Linked DNA regions of Homo sapiens: region 1 is linked to region 2. Evidence: promoter capture Hi-C in 16 types of primary human blood cells and fetal thymus (Javierre and others, 2016). All regions are on one chromosome and are shown on one strand. The core of a region is centred on a gene start or on the middle of the fragment in contact, and the rest is flanking DNA. Distances in the headings are between cores, read along the strand shown.

Region 1 (6,798 bases), core at 733-3,232, 4.0 Mb before region 2:
GTGATTCTCCTGCCTCAGCTTCCTGAGTAGCTGAGATTACAGGCGTCTGCACCACGCCCAGCTAATTTTTGTATTTTTAGTAGAGACGGAGTTTTGCCATGCTGAGCCTCCACTTCCTAGTCTATAAAATGAAGATGATAAAACTCCATCATATTTAGAATTACAAACAGGATGTATAAGATAATCCTATCTGCCACGTTGGCCAGACTGTTCTGAAACTCCTGACCTCAAGTGATCCACCCACCTGGGCCTCCCAAAGTGCTGGGATTACAGGCGTGAACCACCATACCTGTCCTAAGCTTTAAATAATACAACTAAAATCTAGAAGTAAAATGTTTAGATTGAGTGCAGTGGCTCATTCCTGTAATCCCAGCATTTAGGGAGGCAGAGGTGGGAGGATCGCTTGAGGCCAGAAGTTAGAGACCAGCCTGGGCAACATAAGGAGACCTGGTCTCTACAAAAACAAAAAAAAGCTGGGCTTGGTGGCCACAGCCTGTAGGCTGAGGTGGGAGGATGGCTTGAACCCAGGAGTTTGAGGCTGCAGTGAACCATGACCGAGCCACTATGCTCCAGCTCCACCCTGGGTGACAGAGCAAGATCCTGTCAAAAAAAAAAAAAAAAGTTAGAAATAAAGAAAAGAAAATGCTTACATATTTATTTAATTTATTTTGAGACAGTCTCGCTCTGTTGCCCAGGCTGGAGTGCAGTGGCGCGATCTTGGCTCACTGCAACCTCTGCCTCCTGGATTCAAGCAATTCTCCTGCCCCAGCCTCCCGACTAACTGGGATTACAGGCACCCGCCACGACGCCCAGCTAATTTTTGTATTTCGAGTAGAGACGGGGGTTTCGCCATGCTGGCCAGGCTGGTCTTGAACTCGTGACCTCAGGTGATCCTCCCCCCTCAGCCTCCCAAAGTGCTGGGATTACACGCTTGAGCCACTCGACCAGGCCTATTTATTTTTTTAAACCAAGGGCTGGATAGGATTTGATCCGGGCTCCAGATAAAGGACTCCTAGGGAGATACCCTGGTTAGCAGAGGCAGTTAGGAGGCTACTAAAAATAGTTCAATCTAGAAATAATTAGGGCCAGAATTGTCTCCAGCAGCGGGCGGGGGTGGGGCTGGGGATGATTTGGGTAGTTATTTTGTTCTCTTCCCAGCAAGTAATTTCAGAGCAGCCCAGAGATTCATTTTCTAAACAAATGATGTTTTTCTCCCAAGACTGACAAGGATCAGACAGACCTAGGGTTGCCACTAGCACCTAGTATCTTTCAGGCTGTTTTCTTTTGTTTTTAAAGTGGATTAAAAGCTTTCAGCCTTACCTAAATCTTTGTTGCAATTGTACAGATCTGCCTAGATTTATAGCAGATGGTAGAACAGAAACAGTTCCCGACGGAATTAATCATCACATTATTAAAACAAATTTTCGAGCATTGACAAATCCCTTCGGGGTTGTCCTCCGAGTGGGCAATTCGTAACCAGCTTGGGGCGTGCTAAGATTGTAAACGTTCCTATGGAGAGCGATAACAAAGGGGCAGCAGTGACTCCGCACACAGAATTCCAAGAATCACCAGCATTCCATGTGTTCCAAGGCTAGCACAGTGCGCGCGAGGTCCGCTTTTTTAAACAGCGCGGAATCACGTGGCCGACAGCCCGCGGCGCTACTGGCCCTCGGAGTCTCCCTCTTGGCTTTGGCGCGGAACCTTTCCCCCTTTGTGGACGCGACCATTGGCCCCGCGCTCGGAGGTGGTACGGACCAACCCTACGGTCATAGATTTTCCGAGTGAAGCTTTTGACTAAGTCTCAGGAAAGCGTTAGCTACAGAATTCTAGATTCAAAAGAAATCCACCAAAAAACGCTGTGGAGGACTGGTTTTGCCTAAAAGAAAGAGCAGACCTGAACTTGACTCCTCCTACGCCCTGTGAAGGCTGCAAGGTGGTTCCGTCCGAGGCGCGGACTCCGCCCCCACGAGCGCCGCCATTTTGTTTGGCTGAGGGGAGCGAGCGGCGCTTTGGGGGAGGGGTCGCGTAGGCGCCTCACCTGACCCTGCGGCCGTGCGGTTGCTGCTCCGGGGCAGGTCTCCTTCCAGGCCAGGGGCCCGGAATCATGTACATAAAGCAGGTAAGGCCTTCGCGTCCCTCCACCCCGTCATGGGCCGGTAAGGGCCGCTCCTTGAGGCGGGAGTGTTGCGGCGCCACCCGCAGCCTCTCCCCTGTCTCCACAGGCTGGACCAGGGCTGGGCGGGGACTGTGGGGGAGGAGGGAGACCCGGGTCCCGCTAGTGCCCCGGCTGCGGGGTCGCGGAGAATTGGGGCACTCCTTTGCAGCCCCGGCCTCCCTGCTGGCGCTTGTCTGGGAGAGGCAGGATCTCCGAGAGGTGTGGAAGGGCCGGCGGGCGGGCCGCTGGGAGGGACTGGGCCTTCCTGGGTGGCCCCAGAGCTGGCGGGGGGCACCCCGCCGGGGCGGCCGCGGGCGGGAAGGGCTGTGTGGTCCTGCAGGGGTGGCCTCACACGGCCCATGTGCCTGGGATGTGTGGAAAGGTGGCTTCCCCGGCCCGGGGGCGGCCCTGGGGGCATTGGCTGGGGTGTCGTCACCTGTCACTGCGGGGAGCCGTTCTTCTCCCCAGTTAACCCGCGAAGTGAGCGGGACCCTCCTGCTTGCAGGATACGGAGCGCCGCCTCCCTCGGTTGTTTACTTCTGTCAAAATGGTCTTCCCGCGCGGGACTCCACCACAAAGATGAGCCCAGGCACACGGCCTTGGAGACGGTTTTCTGTTGGGTCTGTCGGGCTCTGAGCACTCCTTCTTTGGAACGTGGGTTCTTTCAGGCTGGCCGGCGTGAGTGACTGAAAGCAGCACTCGGTGGTCTTGGAGTCAGGAGAGCTGGGGCCCGTCGGCCTGCTTTTATAGACTTGCTATTGTACTGCAGCGTTTAGGGTTCAGTTAAGCTCACACAGTGTTTTTGATTTTGAAAGGTCCTTAACAGGTTGACAGCATAACTCCTAAAAAAAAATAAAACCCAGCAGCATTGCCTTGGCAAAGATTACCGATAAAAGTACCTTTTTTTTTTTTTAGCAGATTTTTAATCACCACTTTCCAAAATGAATTTTTCTTATATGAAATTTCGAGTTTTCTATATTGCATTAAATGAAAAACAAGAAAGAAATGCAAGAGAAAAATGTTAATTTTTTTTGTGGGGTGGGTTCTCAAAAATGTTTTTTATTTACTAGGTGATTATCCAGGGTTTTCGAAGTTACAGAGATCAAACAATTGTAGATCCCTTCAGTTCAAAACATAATGTGATTGGTAAGTGTTCTTGGTTTACTCGGTCATATTTATAGTCTATACAGATAATGTAAATTCTGTCCATTTCTATATTGGCTTAAGGAGACAGGAATTGTCTTTGAATATTAAGTTATATTTTTCTGCGTGAAATAACTTTTCTGTCTTATTGCACTGATGAATTGCTTATTTTTATAAACTTAAAATGTTTGGATAAGACACTCATAAGTTATCCATTTTTTATCTAGGTAGCCTTGTATGTGTGTGTAAGAGTGTTTTAAAGCATTTCCGCTCTTCTGTTCTTGTTATATATCCTAGTGAAAATGCTGACTGTTGCCTTATTTCAGAGACAGACAATTTTTATTCACAAAGTAGATGCCAGGATTCCCCCCCCACCCCGGCAGTCAGTGTCTCTAAGGACAGACCATGTAGCTAGATTGGAAGAGCATAAACTTTGGAGCATAACAGAATGGGGTTCAAATCCCAGTTATAGGGGGGTGGGGGCCTGGGGGAGGGATAGCATTAGGAGAAATACCTAATGTAAATGTCGAGTTGATGGGTGCAGCAAACCAACATGGCACATGTATACCTATGTAACAAACCTGCATGTTGTGCACATGTATCCTAGTATAACAACAACGAAAAAAAAAATCCCAGTTGTGGCACACGTTCTTTTTCACTTTCTGAGAAGCTTCAGTTTTCTCATTTGTAAAGTGGAGATGATACCTGTCTCATAGGGCTGTTGAGAAGATTAAATGAGAAACCTTATGTAAGTGTGAAGATAAAGAGCTAATGGTGATTGCCATTAACAATATGTAGTCATTATAGATTGCTCAGATTGTAGTGTGCATTTTGCTGATACAGCTAACAAAAATGTTTTCTGACACTCTGCTGAGTATTTTACAGGATAGATGAAAGGAGTGCTTCTGGACACCAGAAACACAGACTGCTGTTGACACAGTTTTGCTGTACAGAGTCCAAACTAAGTGGTGTATTAGTTTGCTAAGGCAGCCATAACAAAATACCATAGACTGGTGGCTTAAACAAGATATTTTTTTTCTCATAGTCTGGAGGTCAGACATCCATGATCAGGATACCTGCATGGTTAGGTTCTCGTGAGGCTCTCTTCCTGGCTTATGGACAGCTGCTGTCTTGCTGTGTGCTCACATGGCCCCATCCTCATGTCCTCATTTAACCATAATCATCTTCCAGGGGTCCCCATGTCCAAATACTATCACATTCGGGATTAAGGTGTCAGTTGTTTCAGGGTGTCAGTTCAATTCAGTCTGTGGTGCGTGGGTGAGATTCACATTACTAATGTTTCCAGAAGACCTTTAGAGAATCATACTTCATTTTGTATAAAATGATAAAATTGAAGGCAGGTTTTTTTGCCCTCGATTTATCAATAGCAGCCTTGTAGTTGGGAATAAAGAAGGCATACTTTTTTTTTCCCTGCTTGTGCTCTGTCTACTGAAGTCATTTAATTGAATTGACATGCCATAGGGTGGCTTAATTGTACTGGGGTTTTGCTTACATATAAGTACTTTCTGATTTTTTTCATCAATCAGAAAATCTTTAGAAATGTAGAAAAATAAGAATTATTAGATTTCTGTTTTCTTTAACTTGCACCTTAAAATAAGTACCTTAATATTTCATTTGTGTGATTTTATAAATGATCTGTAACTTACTAGCTAGAATGATTACATTTTGTCTATAAGGTCCATCAAATACCATTGTTTTAGCTGTTATCAGTTAGTTGTGTTACCTCTGTGATTGCAGCATTAGATTTGTTAATAGTCACTGTTACAAAGGAAAATGGTTTTGTTTAACTAAAACAAATGAACCCAAGATAACAGTACTGATTAAACATATTTTAAAACCAGACACGTTGTAAGACATAATGTAAGAAAGACCAAAAGTAGTTAGGTACTGAGATTTGCCTTAAAAATATCTGGTGAAAGCATACCACTTTGATTGATGAATGATGTTGACTATTAAAAAATATCTCTTGTACTGATGTTGGGTATATGCATCAAACATATACGTTTTTAGGGATTTTTTTCCCCCTAACCTTTAACAAAAGAAATACATGTTATAGAACATTATGGAAAAGCTAAAAGGAAGAAAATTAAGATAAACTATAATCCTTTTACTCAGAGATAACCATTCTTTGTTTTTTACTGCACACCATGATTCTTCAGAGATAACCATTCTTAATAATAACAGTCTATACTTGTGATTAGTCCTGGTTTCCTAGAAAACAGCACAGACAGGATTAGCTGCTAAGGCTTTGATGGGAGGTGCAGTTTGAGGGCAAGAATGAAGAGAAAAGCTGGTCATAGATTTCTAAAGAAGAGACAGGTGGTTTGCAGTCATGTTAAATAACTCACAGACTTTGTGGACCCACCATACCTTAGAAAGGTCAGATGATAGAGGAATGGATTTGGATTCTGACAAGGATTTGTTTGCAGGCACCTGTCTTTCATTGGTCAAAGTTTTCTACATCTGGCATTGATGCCTCCAAGCTTTTGGATTGTGGTGCTCTGGGAACTAACACCCGGAAGTAGTCAGGGAGTTATAGCCTCCTTTCCATGTTCACAATTCAGGAGTACCTGAATGTACTCCCAAGGTAGCTTGAATCTACCAGAGGTATTAGGAGACTGAGCTTTTCCATTGATTGGCAGCCAAGGCCTGGGTTGAGAAAGGTGAATCTGGGGCCACATATAAACTGTGTTTACCTCAGTACGTTTTTAGTCTTTGTATACATCTTTTTAATATATATTTAAATAAAAATGGGTTCATTTTTAAATAAAAATGGGTTCATTTTTAAATAAAAAATGGGTTCATCATATAACTTACTGGTAATCTGTTATTCTCCTTCAGGATAAATCTTGAAATATCTTTATTAAATATTCAGCATCCTTTAAAATTGCTATATAGTGTTCCACTCTAGCAGTAATTCTTAAAAGGAAATTCTTAAAATTTCAGTTATTTATAGATGGATTGTGGTTTGAAATATTTATTCATTTAATGATAAATTGTCATCTTAAACTTTTATTTAGAAATAGTTTCAAATTTACAGAAAAATTTCCCCAATAAGAACTGTTCAGAGACTACTCATAAACCCTTTACCTAGATTCACCTGTTGTTAACATTTTCCCCACTTGCTGTATCATTTCCACTTTTTACACACCTTTTTCCTTAAAGTTATTTACACCATGGTCCTTTACCTCTGACTTTAATGTGTACTTTCTAAGAGGAGGGATGTTCTCTTTCATAATCACAGTACAATTTACAACTTAAGTAAATTTAATACATAGTAATCTGTCCATTTTCCAGTTATGTTGACTGACCCAGAAGTGTTCTTGATAGCATTTTTCCCCCTCCAGTACAGGATCTAATTTAGGAGCAGGTATTGCATAGTTGTCATGCTTCTTTAGTCTCCTTTAATCTGGATCATTTCCACAGCCTTCCTTTGTCTTTTATAACATTGTTATTTTTGAGAATTAAGACATAAGTGA
Region 2 (6,672 bases), core at 4,173-6,672:
TTCATATTCTAGGGGAAATCAGTGCCATCGTGGGAGCTAAAAAAAGGAGAACTCATTCCCAGGGCTGCCAATTGTAACCCTGGATTAAAGTGCCATGTGACTCAGCAGCTGCTTAACTTTTGACTAATAGATTTGTTTACATAAGAAGAATGAGAGGGTTTAAGCAATCAATGACGTCCTATCGGTTAAAAAAAGAAAAAAAAGAAAGAAAGAAAAATGACGTAGGCTGGGTGTGGTGCTTCATGCCTGTAATCCCAGCACTTCAGGAGGCCAAGGCAGGAGGACCACTTGAGGCCAGGAGTTAAGAGAGCAGCCTGGGCAACATAGTGAGACCCTGTCTCTAAAAAATAATAATAAAAAAAAATTAGCTGGGCATGATGGCATGCACCTGTAGTCCCGGGACTCAGGAGACTGAGGCAGGGAATCTCTGGAGCCCAGGAGTTTGAGGCTGCAGTAAGTTATGACTGTGCCACTGTGCTCCAGTCTGGACAACAGAGTGAGACCCTGTTTCTAAAAAAACAATAAAAATAAGTGACTTAAGATACAGCAGCTAGTTATCCTTAGAGATGTCACTGGATTATGAACTGATAGGCTCATGTTTATGTTTATAAATAGTATAAATAATATGTATAAGCTCAAATAATAGGGATGAGAAGGGAGGAGGTGAGGTCTTAGGTTTCATTCATTTGGCAAAAGCCTGTGATGAACCTGTGGGTCAGGCACTGGACACCTGATGAGGAGGAAAGAAAGGCTGTATAATCTGCGCTACCAAGAAGAAATCTGTATTCAATTCCTGGCCCTGCAGTAATCATCTGTACGCCTTTCGGCAACTGCTCTGGGCCTCAGTTTACTTACTTGCAAAACAAAGATGAGAGTCATACTCAAGCCATAGAGTTGATGAAAGGACTTTGATGAAGTATGCTTATAAAGTGCTAAGGCAATAAGAACAAACAATAATTACAACCATAACCACCTTTATTACACATTCCTGTCCTCAAGAGCTTAGTATGCAGAGCTTAGCAAACAGGTGACTGTAACTGGATAAGATGGTTAGTGTAATGTACAAAGTGAGGTGGGTGTGGGGAGAAAATTCTCCAAGGCTACTGTCTTGGGGAGTCAAAGAGGAATCACAGGAGAGAAGCTCTTAGACTTAAAAGAGAGTAGAAATTTACTCGGTAGTCAACCCCCCTCCTTTCCCCGCTCCTTCTTTCCTTCCTTCCCTCTCCTTTTCCCTCCCATTCATCCATCCTTCTATCCATCCACTCATCCTCTTATTGGGCACCAACCTTCTATCAGATGATGTTTTAGTTTCGGGGATATGATAGTACCTGTCATAAGCATACATTCTTGCAATGAGTGACAGATACTAGACATGGATACAAGCAGATAAGAATTCCAGATAGTCGGGGAACAGTGCCATGAAGAACCTAAAACAGAACCAGGGGAGAGAAGATGGCCTAGGGGTTGGGCAGGTGGAAGCAACTTTAGCTAGGTGATTAGAGGATACCTCTCCAAGTCAAAAGAGGCAGGTTGAATAATGAGAAGGAAGCCAAGATCTGGAGGAAGAATGTGCCAGGCTCAGGGAGCAGTGAAAGCCCAGAGATGGACAGTGTCTGTGCTTGAGGGGCAGAAAGAAGGCTAGCAGGGCTGGAATGAAAGAGGAGGGAAGATGTAGGTAATCAGAAACTTAATCTCAGAGGGCTGCATAAGCCAGGAGAAGATATTTCAACAGATTTTCAAAATTCCAAGGTTTAAAGGCAAAACAAAAACCCAGTCGAACACATGTTTTCCTCATGCTTTAGAACTCTTTTCAAACCACAAAGGAAACCTGGCAATCCACCCCACCCCCCACTTATTCCCTAAACTTCGTTATATAAGGGCCAACATCTTCTTTCATCTGTTGCCAGACCAGATACATTTGGCATCCTAAACAAGTTGCCAAAACAAAGCAGAAAGCTCAGCTTAAACTCTGTTAGAGGATGTTCTAAACTTCACAAAACACAATTCTCTATGTTTTCAAGTATGTTTATTTGGACAAGGTATACGGATATGAGCACAGACATAAGGAACCAGCTGCACAGAACCAAGACAATCTAGTAAAAAATTACTATTCAGCAGTAAGGAAAGATAAAAGCAGTCTTAAGTGTAAACAAGTATTTTTGCTTCATCTAGTGTTTATGAGCAACAAATGGCCTCAGTGTGAACCAGCAATGCTGAGAAGGACACAAACACGTATTTGCTAAAAACATTCCAGGCTTGGCGAATAATAAAGCAGCAGGGTTTGTTTCCTCTTTGATGAAGGTCCCCTCCCGTCAAAGGCTGCACCTTAAGCCTCTGCAGCTTAAGGTACAAGAAAGGCTCACGCTTGCTCATTCCCAGGGCTCTGCTTAGAAGCATGTAGCTAGGCCAGGTGCGGTGGCTCACGCCTGTAATCCCAGCACTTTGGGAGGCTGAAGCGGGTGGATCACTTGAGGTCAGGAGTTGAAGACCAGCCTAGCCAACATGGTGAAACCCCATCTCTACTAAAAACACAAAAAATTAGCCGGGCATGGTGGCACACACCTGTAATCCCAGTTACTCGGAGGGTGAGGCAGGAGAATCGCTTGAACCCAGGAGGTGGAGGTTGCAGTGAGCCAAGATTGCACCACTGCACTCCAGCCTGGGTGACAGAGCAAGACTCCATCTCAAAAAACAAAACAAAACAAAAAAATCCATGGAGCTGGGGTTGGTTTGTGAACCAAAGCAAGAGATTGAGAGGATCTTTGGCTTCTCTGTCTCTCACTACGGCATCTTTACATTCTGCACAGTCTGGAAACTTCCAATTTCAAGACATCTGCCCCATCTGCACCCCCCTTGCCCTGATAACCTGGTTCAGAGAACCAGGTAGGTTCTCTGGGCAGCACCACCTGACTCCCCACAGGACACATAGATCAACAAGGGCCGTTTTTTCACCTCTGATCATAAGCTCTTTCAACTGGCGAGTTTTCTTAAAGAGGTGGTAAATACCTTGCCTTTGGGTCAGACCCTATGGTTAGTGTGCTCTTTATCTTATTGAAACCATGAAGAAGCATTAACCTGTGGGGTTTATAATAAGAGCAGAAATTTAATTTCTGGGCCTTATGAAGGCCCAAATTCTACAACCCACAGACCCACTCTTCCTGCATCCTTCAAAGAGTTTTCTGGTAGCCCCTCAGACATTAAAACCTGCTTAGATGGTGACTGGATTTGTCCTCTTTAAAAAATTACAGAAATATGGACACAGGCTGCAGACATGTGGCTTGCTGACCAAGCTCCTGGGTGGTCTTTCCATAGAAATCATTGACATTCATTTGTCTGTTCATCAATGACTGAGCAAATAGTATGAGCAGGCACTGTGCTATATCCTGGGGGCAAATAGACCTAAAATGCTCACATTTGCTGCACTCAGGGATCTTTGGTCTACTGAATGGGGGGAGAGGGTGAATTTTAATTACGAAGAACTGTTACTTAGAGAGCACATGGTGTGTGTCACATTGGTACCTCCAGGTGGAGAGAAATGCAAGATTTGCTTTGCAATCAAAAGCAGAAACCACAGCTCTCTGATAACATTATGGGCCAGTCCAGGTCTGTCACCAAGAATAGACTTCAATAAGTCAAGGTGTTTCCCTATCTGTTCAGCCAATGCTAAGCACCACTAAGCACTATGCAGTGGTACATCTCATCTGGTTTGGGTGGTGGTGGTAGCTCCTGGAAGTCACGGTGCTCAGTGCAATGTACTATATTCTTGGAGAAACACCAAGAAAAAGCAGCACTCGCAGCTTCATGCATTTTGTAATCTGTAAACCTTTGAGAGCAAACAAGCAGTAGCATTAATGCTAAAGGTGTAAGAAAAATTTTAAACGGAAAAAATCCCAGCCATTGACTTCATCGTTATCTGTAAATTGGAAAAAAGCTGTGATTCTTCAATTGCACTCACAAAACAAGGCCCAATTCCTAAAAAAATCAAAACAGTTTGAGACCCACTGGTACAGATGGCGAAAAGAAAAAAGAAATGAAAGCATTCACTTGCAGATTCTAGAAGAAAAAAAAACTAACAGGCATGGCCAGATTTACTAAAAACCCACATTACAAACAAACAAACAACAACAACAACAAAAAACTCTATATTTACAGAAGGGAAAAGTATGGGTAACTATTTGCTTTATAAAATGGATCACTGTATAAGCTTCTTTTTAAAAAAAGACAAAATAGTATATCCCCAGAATGCACTTTAGAATTCAATTGAAAGAAGTTTGACTACTATACCAATCATAGCACTGTATAAAATAAGTCCCACAAGGGCACAGAAGGAAAAGGGGGCAGAAGAATGTATATCCGCAGCAAGTCCTTGAATCTGATACCCCATTCCCAAGATGTGATTTCAGACAAAACCCAAACAAAATAAAAACCAAATGGTCAGGCAAAAACACCTGTCCTGCCACTGTTCCTTGGACCCCGCCAGGCCTCCCTGGGACTCCAGCCTCCTCTCATAGACCCTTCCCCCTCGTTGGCAGCAGTAGGCCCCAAGACAGGTTTCCCTCTAGCAGTGATTCCCAACCAGGGGCATTTTGCCCACAGGGAATATTTAACAGTGTCTGAAGATATCTCTGGTTCTCACAGCTGGGGAGGGAGTGCTACTGTCGCCTGGTGTGTAGAGATCAAGGATGCTACTAGACATCCCATAGACAGTCCCCTGCAACAAACTATAATCCCATCCAAAATGTCAATAATGCTGAGGTTGAGAAACCCTGTTCTACAGGAGCCAAAATCATGACCATCCCTCCAGAAAGTCAGGTTACAAGAACTGAGTAGTTCACTTTCTGTCCTTTTAGGTGAGCTATTGTTTAGTTGAAGAGAAAAATCTGCAGGCTTCTGTTGTCAGGATATAATATTCCCTGAGCTTACTGGATAAGCCACTGATGCGAGGATTAGACTCACTGACACATGAAAATGCTTAGGCAACCGCCTCGAAAACATTGGTCAAAACATTCTAAGTGTTATAAGGGATGCTTGGCAAGGCCTCACGCTTAGTCTTAAAAAGCCTTCTCAAAAGTAATTTATACCAATGAGCCGTGGCAAATTCACCTATTCTATAAGTACGCAGTGACTCAACAAGCCTTTTGATCCATTTATAGAATGGCAACAATTATATTTTAATGAGTTATTTTCACTTACTTGTCAGAACCTGTTTTGGTAATCTAAATAACTTCACATCCTCTTAACATTCCTTATGAGGCTGTCTGAGAGAAAAACAGGCTCAGTTTTCTTTTAAGTCTCCAATCTCAGCTAAGTGACAAATGAAGCTGCTATAGCGACCACACTCCTGCTGGCTTATGGCCAAACTCACGTTTTCTTTTTTTCTTTTCCAACATCATAAATCTATTTTTTTCACAGATGAAATAACTTTCTGGTCCCATTTCTTCTTTCATGCTAGTATAGCACATTTTAAAACACTTTCCCCCCAAAAAAAGTCTTTACAGTATGATTCGATTAATAACTGGGTTTTTAGGAAAACTATTTTCAATATAAAGGCCAGAATCTCTAGATTTCTTTTACTGCATATCAAAGGTGGAAAGAGAGGCAATTGTCAAGCTCTTTCAACCTAGAGCCGCAATAAAACATGAATAACATCTAAACATTTTGTTTCCTTATTTTCATTTATTGGGTATTTCTTAAAGAAAAAAAAATCTCATAATTTACAGTAATAGCTAAATCTACTCATTCCCACGTGCCACTTCCACCACCAAATCCCCCAAACAGGACTCAAATGTAAATTTCACAGAGCTCTACAAACCACAGACAAAACAAAACAACCCCAAAGTCTGAAAACCACAGTCTCCTTTCAATCTTGCGGGTAGCAGCCTAAAAAAACATAAGCCTTGTTTAAAAGGTCAACGCACTACACTTCTCAGTGAAATAAATAACCAGCCTTTCCTGCCCTTCAGTCTAGTTCTGTATCGATGAACAAAAGCTCCTGTCGTTTCTTTTGTATCATCAGGAAAACAAAAAGTTTACATAAATGTATGTCAGGGCAATAAAAGTGACTTCTGTCGCCAGCATCCAGCCACCACATTTGGAGGATCCGAGCGGCCTCCGACCTCACGAAGGAAGCCAGAAATCTCACATCTGCCACGCAAAGCAAAGGACATAGGTCACCTTGTGCAATGTCCGCTTTACCTCAGGCCAGGGTTCCTTTTCTTCTAATTCTGTTCCTTGGCTGTGCTGAGCAGAGAACTCCTCCAGGCTTCAAGTTCAGAACACGGCCAAGAGGCTTTGTAGATGCCAGACCTCAGCCCGACAGACTGAGGCTCCCACCTGCCTGGGTTACATATCAGGCTTCTCTCCGAAGCTCGGCTAAGGCAACGTGCATCCCTCTAGAGACGCACTCCGGAAACCAGCCCCGTGTGCGGCGGGCAGGCACGCTCTCTCACGCCTCCTCTCCTCGCTTTACTTACTAGTTCAACACACCAGCAACCACAATGGGCCAGTCCATGTTCCCAAAAAAGGAGGGGGAGTAGATTTACTTTCTTTCTTTTTTTAAATGCAGGTAGGAAAGTACCATTTCTTTGCATTCACTCACTATTGTCTGCATGTGAAACCGACAGTGATTGTCCCTGAGGCATAAGCTTGTACTGAAACGAGATTCTTAGGCTT

Evidence for each region. Contacts are between HindIII fragments. The CHiCAGO score rates a contact against its expected background, and 5 or more counts as called.
Region 1: a contact is called between the fragment with the promoter of SMC3 here and a fragment that was not itself captured in region 2, in 1 of 17 cell types (naive CD4 T cells). The highest score is 5.0, in naive CD4 T cells.

The regions. Positions count from the first base shown.
Region 1 is chr10:110,565,713-110,572,510 of GRCh38, forward strand. It overlaps SMC3 (structural maintenance of chromosomes 3), which reads left to right and starts at 1,983. Exons shown (of 29, transcript NM_005445.4): 1 at 1,983-2,119; 2 at 3,226-3,301. The coding sequence starts at 2,105. It overlaps LOC105378483 (a long non-coding RNA gene), which reads right to left and starts at 1,596. Exons shown (of 2, transcript XR_946318.2): 1 at 1,321-1,596. RefSeq lists enhancers at 286-988, 1,803-1,852, 1,863-1,962 and a silencer at 2,303-2,592. The HindIII fragment of the contact is 2,181 bases long and covers 1,786-3,966 here.
Region 2 is chr10:114,520,465-114,527,136 of GRCh38, forward strand. The region is part of intron 6 of ABLIM1 (actin binding LIM protein 1); the gene reads right to left. Among named protein-coding and RNA genes, the nearest start is that of AFAP1L2, 120 kb to the left of the region's middle. RefSeq lists enhancers at 6,165-6,284, 6,455-6,672. The HindIII fragment of the contact is 2,440 bases long and covers 4,203-6,642 here.